2 separate regions of the Homo sapiens genome follow, and region 2 is linked to region 1. The links are contacts of gene promoters, found by promoter capture Hi-C in blood cells and fetal thymus (Javierre and others, 2016). All regions are on one chromosome and are shown on one strand. The core of a region is centred on a gene start or on the middle of the fragment in contact, and the rest is flanking DNA. Distances in the headings are between cores, read along the strand shown. Region 1 holds the start of LMBRD1 (LMBR1 domain containing 1). Region 2 overlaps SMAP1 (small ArfGAP 1).

What was found. The method cuts DNA at HindIII sites, captures the fragments that hold promoters and counts their contacts. A CHiCAGO score of 5 or more calls a contact.
Region 2: a fragment that was not itself captured here is called in contact with the fragment with the promoter of LMBRD1 in region 1 in 2 of 17 cell types (total CD4 T cells and neutrophils); the score reaches 5.4 in total CD4 T cells.

The regions. Positions count from the first base shown.
Region 1 is chr6:69,795,373-69,799,263 of GRCh38, reverse strand. It overlaps LMBRD1 (LMBR1 domain containing 1), which reads left to right and starts at 2,254. Exons shown (of 16, transcript NM_018368.4): 1 at 2,254-2,451. The coding sequence starts at 2,383. RefSeq lists enhancers at 2,333-2,562, 2,191-2,746, 2,873-2,922, 2,747-3,303. The HindIII fragment of the contact is 19,066 bases long and covers 1-3,891 here.
Region 2 is chr6:70,668,105-70,672,006 of GRCh38, reverse strand. It overlaps SMAP1 (small ArfGAP 1), which reads right to left. Exons shown (of 11, transcript NM_001044305.3): 1 at 3,866-3,902. Among named protein-coding and RNA genes, the nearest start is that of SMAP1, 2.2 kb to the right of the region's middle. RefSeq lists silencers at 3,383-3,442, 3,563-3,792. The HindIII fragment of the contact is 1,454 bases long and covers 1,272-2,725 here.

The DNA of each region.
Region 1 (3,891 bases), core at 1,005-3,504:
AGAGTCTTTGATTTGAGCAGAACCTTTGGTGGCAGATGCTAGATGCTGATCATGAGTGACAGTAAGACAGTGTCTGTTAAGATGGCTATCTTGAGCTGTTGAAGTTCTACTCTTTTTATAGCCTCAGAGTCCTCTGGTGTTGACTGATAGTAAAGAGTGTGCCTGCAATAGCAAATACTTGGAACCAACTGAAATGTCCATCAGTGATAGACTGGATTAAGAAAATGTGGCACATATACACCATGGAATACTATGCAGCCATAAAAAAGGATGAGTTCATGTTCTTTGTAGGGACATGGATGAAGCTGGAAAACATCATTCTCAGCAAACTATTGCAAGGACAGAAAACCAAACACCACATGTTCTCACTCATAGGTGGGAATTGAACAATGAGAACACTTGGACACAGGAAGGGGAACATCACACACTGGGCCCTGTTGTAGGGTGGGGGAAAGTGGGGAGGGATAGCATTAGGAGATATACCTGATGTAAGACTAGTTAATGGGTGCAGCACCTCAACATGGCACATGTATGCATATGTAACAAATCTGCACGTTGTGCACATGTACCCTAGAACTTAAAGTATAATAATAATAATAATAATAATAATAATAATAATAAAAGAGTGTGCCTGGTTATGTCGTTATCTGGTTGGGTGCAGTCTCTATTGATTAGGTGAACATCTGGTCCCTTTTGGCATGATTCCTTTTGAAATGTAAACAGAATCTTTTTCTAAGAAGTAGTTACTTATGTCAAGGGTGCTCTATACAATCTGGAATAGAGATATCAACCTGGAAGCGATACCTCTCTTCACTTTAAGGAAGCTATGACAGAGGTCTCCAGGGATATGAATTATTAGGAAGAAAGAGTGAAATTCAAACATTTGCAGGTCTAGAGGGCTTAAAGCCAGCTTATGATGGTACCAGTTCAAGTTAAAACTGTATTCTCCCCTATTCCCTTCTTATTCTGTCCAGGCAGGAAGGACCATCCTATTTTTTCCCTCAGGCTTCCAGCCGGAAGTAGATTATAGGTAGAGCATAACTCATCACCACATAATACATTGGAAAAAGATGATGGTATTTTTTCTCAGAGTTGTTTCTTGACTACATCACAGTGGTGAAACATGCACTCACACCCCTGTGGACTCAGGTAAGCCATCCCAAGAGTTTCCTCCCTGTGGACTCAGGTAAGCCATCCCAAGAGTTTCCTCCTTCTTCTTCATTGTGGGCCTATGGCAGTGTGTTTTGTTTGCTGATGCATATACCTTTACATACAAAGCTATCATGGAAATTCACAGGCATGCATACATCTGAATAGAAAGGCTATAACATCATGTGATAAGTTCATGTCCAGCCAACCAGTTATCCCGGCTGGGCACCAGTGCCAGTAAATTAGAGTGATTTGGGCAGCTAGTCAACTTTTATTCAGAGTCAGCTGTCTCATGCGTCCGTGTGAAGAGACCACCAAACAGGCTTTGTGTGAGCAACATGGCTGTTTATTTCACATGGGTGCAGGCGGGCTGAGTCCGAAAAGAGAGTCGGCAAAGGGTGGTGGGATTATCATTGGTTCTTACAGTTTTTCGGATAGGAGGTGGAGTGAAGAGCAATGTTTTGGGGGTAGGGGGTAGATCTCACAAAGTACATTCTCAAGGGTGGGGAGAATTACAAAGAAACTTCTTAAGGGTGGGGGAGATTATAAAGAACATTGATCAGTTAGGGTGGGGCAGAAACAAATCACAATGGTGGAATGTCATCAGCTAAGCTATTTTCACTTCTGTGGATCTTCAGTTGCTTCAGGCCAGCTGGATGTATACGTGAAGGTCACTGGGGATATGATGGCTTAGCTTGGGCTCAGAGGCCTGACATCAGCCATTCTTGCAACCTGGTAAGGAGTTCTGCTAATCACACACATTCCACCTTGTACACGAGGGCCAAACTTCCTTTTGGTGAAGAAGTATAAACCTCTAAAATTGACTTGGATCTCCAGGTCCACCTAGCCCATTCTTTGTGGAGTTCCCTTGCTGTTCTAGTCTATCAACTTAGGCTGAGTCAAATATCTCAATAGGTTGCCCAGCTATGAGCCAACACCCTGCTCTGCAGCCCTCCCACATCTCAGCTTGCAGGGAAGCCAGCGAGGGCAGCGTGGTGATGTCACTGCGTCCGCACGCGCCCCGCCCCTGAGCAGTCCTTGCTGCCCCGCCCCCGCTCGGCTCGCCGCCAGGGGACGCTAGTGGGTCCAGTCTCCTTGGCAACCACTTGCTCCTCCCCCTCCGCCCCTTTAACCTTTAGGGTGCGCGGGTGCAGTATATCTCGCGCTCTCTCCCCTTTCCCCCTCCCCTTTCCCCACCCCGGGCGCTCAGGTTGGTCTGGACCGGAAGCGAAGATGGCGACTTCTGGCGCGGCCTCGGCGGAGCTGGTGATCGGCTGGTGCATATTCGGCCTCTTACTACTGGTAGGGGAGGCGCTTGGAGTTTTCCCCATGTTTGGACTGGGGGAGGAAGGGAGGGGCAGGCCCTGCAGTTGGCCTCTCCGGGCCCCGGAGACCCTCTTCGCCCCGCCCCGCTTTTAGCTTGGACTGTGGAGGGCTCCTTAGTGTTGGGGGCTTGGGCGGGCGGCGGGGGCAGGGGGGTGTCGATTTCCGGTCTCTTTTGCTGTCATTTCACCGATGACGTCTAGGGTTGCAGGGTCCTTTTTGGAAGCTCTTGCCGTCATCGCTGACTTGGGCAATGGGGCCGGTGGGGTTTGGGGGCGGAAGAGACCCTCGGGGTTGAGAAGTATGTGGTGGCCTTTCGTCCCCTGTAAAACATTGTCACACGGTGTGGGGCGGCAGCGCTGGATCTTTGCAAGTTAAGTAGGCGCTGGCGTTGTTTACTTGTCACCTTCTCTGTATGTTTTTTCCCTCATTTTCCCTACCCTTGGGGCTAGTGAGTCTCCAACCTCTGTGCCCATTGTGTGATTCTGCCTTGATGACGTGAGTTGCTCGTTCTGACTTCCAGGTGTCACATTCTCTTCTAATCTTTTTTTGATTGGTGTAGATACCTGTGGAGGGCGGAGCTGTAGCCCTCTTTATTACCAGTATCGGAGTATATACTACTACCTGTCTGACCTCAGGTGCTTTCTTTTCCAACGATCTTATTTCTGCATATTCAGTGAGCAAAGTGTAGATAGAAATGTCTCAGAGTGGCCTGGCTATTACTTCCCTGTTCATATTAAAACCCTTTGGTTTATTTGGGAGTTCAATTTATTTCCTTTCATAACTTCTCTACCTTCTCAAATCTTCTCTTTTCTCATCGTCCGAGGCTGTAGTTACTTTCTGTTCTCACGTATTTTGACCTTTTTGCATTGCAAAACAAAAACCTCCAGTTCTGGAAATCAGGCTTGTTTGGTTTTACTTTAATTGTCAGATCCAGTTGGTGTCTGGTACCTATGTAGTATGTTCTAGTAGATTTTTGCAGTAGAGACTAAAAAAAGAAAATAAAAGAAAAGAATGGTGTGAAAATTTAAGAAAAGGATCCTCTTGTTACTGCCATCACTGTCACAGATAAAAACACTGCCTTTACCCTGGAACATGTTAGTCCTCTCTTGGAGGAAATGAAACCCTAAAGGTTGACTGTGGTCTCTGCAGCCACCCAGTCCTGTATTTGGAGAGCCCCCTGGCTTTTCCAGTCCATCAGATTTAGTTTGTTTAGAAAAAAATAAATAAGCATGTAATGTATGAAAGTTACGTGAGACTATCTTGGCAGTTATAAATTAATAAACATTTACGGTACAGAAGTGGTGTGAATTGTAAGAGGATGTAAACCAAACAAAATACGGCTTTAAAGAGGGCCTGAAGATAAGTGAGAAAACTGAAATTCTTGAAACATGTATTTTATGGACCGAAAGCCAAAGT
Region 2 (3,902 bases), core at 749-3,248, 870 kb before region 1:
AAACAAAACAATCTCTAGAGTTAAAAAACCTTATGTTTCTGACTACCCAAAATTGAATGGGCAAGAGACTCACTTTCATACCAATTTAAACATGCTCAAAATCAAACCTAGCAAAAGATGGAAACAGACCAAATGTTCATCAATAGACGGATAAATTGTGGTCTATCCATACAATGGAATATTATTCAGCCATAAAAGGAGTGAGGTACCGACACATGCTACAAAATGAATGAACTTTGAAAACATATGAAGTCAAAGTCAGAAACAAAAGTTCATATGTTGTATTATATTAAATATCCAGAACAGCCAAACCTACAGAGATAGAACATGCAATAGTGTCTGCCAAGGGCTGGGGAGAGGGGATAGTGGGAAGAAACCGCTCAATGTGAATTTTATCTATATGTTTTGTTTTTGTTTTTGTTTTTCCCTGAGACGGAGTCTTGTTCTGTCACCCAGGCTGGAGTACAGTGGCGCGATCTCGGCTCACTGCAACCTCCGCCTCTCCGCCTCCCAGGTTCAAGCAATTCTCTTGCCTCCGCCTCCCACGTAGGGATTACAGGTGCCTGCCACCATGCCTGGCTAATGGTTTTTGTATTTTTAGTGGAGACGGGGTTTCACTATGTTGGCCAGGCTGGTCTTGAATGCACTTTTAAAATCTCAGAAATATACATTAACAAGCATGGGACATGTCAATGTGGTACCTGCCAAGCCCAGCGATGTTTTCTAGGAGCCCTACTCAGCCAAGTTCAGGCTACTCCTGATGTCCAACACAAGATGCCCTATTCAGAGCATGTGAAAGAATAGAGAAGTGAAAAAAAAAAACAAAAATCAAAGCTAGAATTACCTGTAGATAACACTTTAAATACTGAAAACTAAACTTGAAGCTGGCAAGGCATTCCCAGTCCTCACTGCTCCCTAAAGTGCCACCAACTAATAACCAACAAGAGCTGCTTTAAACTCCCACTGAGTCATGAATGCAGCTAGGAGAGAGGAGGAGTAGTTCCATCTGCCTGTTCTTAAATTCTCCAGTTGTTCAACAGATTTGGTAAGAGCAGGATCAAGAGCAGGAAACTGGCGCCTATGCCATCCTTTTCTCCTTCGTTGCTTCCTAAATACTGTCAATCCAGGAAACACAGCTGGTGATTCAGTAAGAAAATGTCAAAACCCAATTGACATACCTCTACCAACTATGATAAGGCAAGATAATACAGGCACCTCAAATCCTAAGCTTTAGTTTTGGTACATATTCTCAAAGATCAGTGGAAGAAGCTTCTTTGAAAGAAAGAAAATTGAGTTAACTAGGAAATAACTTTGAAATACAGTACATGAAAAGTTTGATGCAATTTACTAGACAGTGAAGAAAACATCAATACATACACAGAATGAAACTTCTTAGTAACTGAGCTGTAGAGTAAGACCTTTAACATATCTTTTAAAAGTACTATATTTATTATGTCATCCTAGCATATAGATCCAAAATCATGTAACAAGCCAAGAATTCTACTAAAAAAGCCTCCATAATGTACTTCAACCTTACCAAATACTCAAAAACTGTGAAAATATATTTACATCAATTGCTCTATCATGTCGAATTTTTCAATTATTACAACCATGAAATCAAGTCTAATTAAATCAATAAGTGGCCTTACCTGTGATTTTTTGCCTGAAAGATCAAGATAAAACAATGAAATTATTTACAAGATCATTTTAATATTCTTCTAGATTTAGTAGCAACAAGAAAAAAATAATCCTTGTAAATTATACTGTGGAGTTCATGCCCTTCAAGCTGCACCCTTGTACTCTTGATACCATTCTCTTCTCTCCCACTTCCTTCACTTCTCAAAACAAGTAAACCAACAAAAGGCCAGACAAAACCAAAATACAAAAGACATTCATTCAATATATATCTACTGATTTCCGTGGCAATACAAACACTGAGCAAAACGAATACTTCCTATTCTTCAGGTCCAAAGAAGTAAAACTTTTGATCCTAATTTAAGAAGTACATGATTCTCTTCTCCCCACCTCAAAAGAGTAAATAAAAAAAAAAAAAGTTAACATGGTTAATAATGGCTTTTAAAAATCTGTATTATTTTAGAAAGCATTAGTGAAAATCTGATTTTATAAAGTACTTTTTTGGAGACAGAAATTTGAACAAAAATTAAATTATTTTTAATAAAGTCTGTAGATGAAGGAAGGTTAATTCTGAAACTGTTACTATTCGACTTTTAATGAACAGATTTAATATTTACCAGCATCTCTACTTAACCATGTTATTACTCAAAATGACAAAATGTGTACTATTTAGCTTCAGCTTCTTTCTTCTTCTTGGCCTTTTAAAGGACCATTTTTCAGTGTTTTGCTAGTGCAGTCAATGAGCAAGCAACTGAGCCTAAACACAGTGCAGAACTCCCAAATAACCACACACAATCAAGTTACTAGGAAAACAAGTATTACAAGAACCAGGCACGGACTTTGTAAAAACTCATCACCTGAAAAGGTTACATAGGATAAATATAATCTTGACTCAATCAAGTTACTATATTGAAAAGTGCTTCATAAAAATAATCTAGTTACAGTATTCCCGCATGATTCTTCTAGTAATTCAGTACCTGTTACGACAGTGAAGTAACCTGCTGATGCTGTGTGGCTCAGTCTAGTCAAATATTATCAGCCTACTGAAATGTGACTCATTTATATAGTATTGAGATAGAACAGTAAAGCTTCAGGAAAAGTCTAAGTCAAATAACACAGAAATCTTAAAGGACATTCCCCAAAGAGACTGTCTCCTGCTTTAGAGAACTACCCTATTTCTCACCCAATAACGAAATAAACCAATTAAAAATATACACGATCTTTTCTTAACTACACAAGACATTTCTTTAAAAAAAAAAGAAATATTTCCCTTGAGATTACTTACAAGACATTAAACATAAATCAGATCTCCAAACACAAAACATAGCAGCTAAAAATAGTATATCTGTTTCAAAGGCTGAGGCAGAAGCCCTCCAACCGAAAAAACTAAAATTAGGTTTTTTCCATCTCTAGATCTTTAAAATGAACCTTCAGCATTTATGAGGTACACAAATCAGTGTCCACATATTCTCCCAAACTAGCTGGTCAGAGAAAACCTAATTACTAAAATCTTCAGAAATACAAACCCACCGTCCTCCAAGAGACTCATGTAATGAAATTCCTCTTCATTCTGGCTAATAACCAGACTAAAAAACAATACTACTACTAATAAAGACCTTTCTCCAATTAATTTATTCCGTAAAACTCAAACCCACCGAAAAAGACCACCATACTCTTTTTCAGGAAGCAGAGATAAAAGCCTTGTACAAAAGCTGTCAGGTGGGCAGGCAGGTAGGGCTCCATCTAGGAGACCAAGAATCCGAGCCCGGAGTGGGAGGACGTGGTCACACCGGAGGGTAGAGGAGGGGATCCAGACCTAAGCGCGGCCCCACCCACAGAGATAGCTATGAGCAGAGCTAGGAGGGCAACTCTCTAACCCTAAGCTCTGCCCAGACCCGTGCCCGGTTCCGCGCTCCCAGCCTCGCTCCTACCCCCAGCCCTGTGGAGGGTCCGAGCATCGCTACCCTGGCACCTGCTCAAACCCGTGTCTGGGAGGAGGGGAGGCTGGGGCCACTGACAGGGCCTGCGGGCCTGACCTCGCCGCCGCCTCTGGCGGACTTGAGGGTCGACAGGAGCCCCGCGCCCGCCCGCTCAGCCACCCGCCCTCCAGTCAGGGCAGGAGCCGGCCAGCGAAGCCGAGGCGTCCGCTCGGGCCCCGAGCGCCGCAGCGGCGGGAAGGTCACCGGTCGCAAGAGGCCCCGACCGTGGGCAGCGACGACGTCCAAGCTACCTTTGGCCTCGCAGTCGGCGCAGTACTTGTTGTCCTC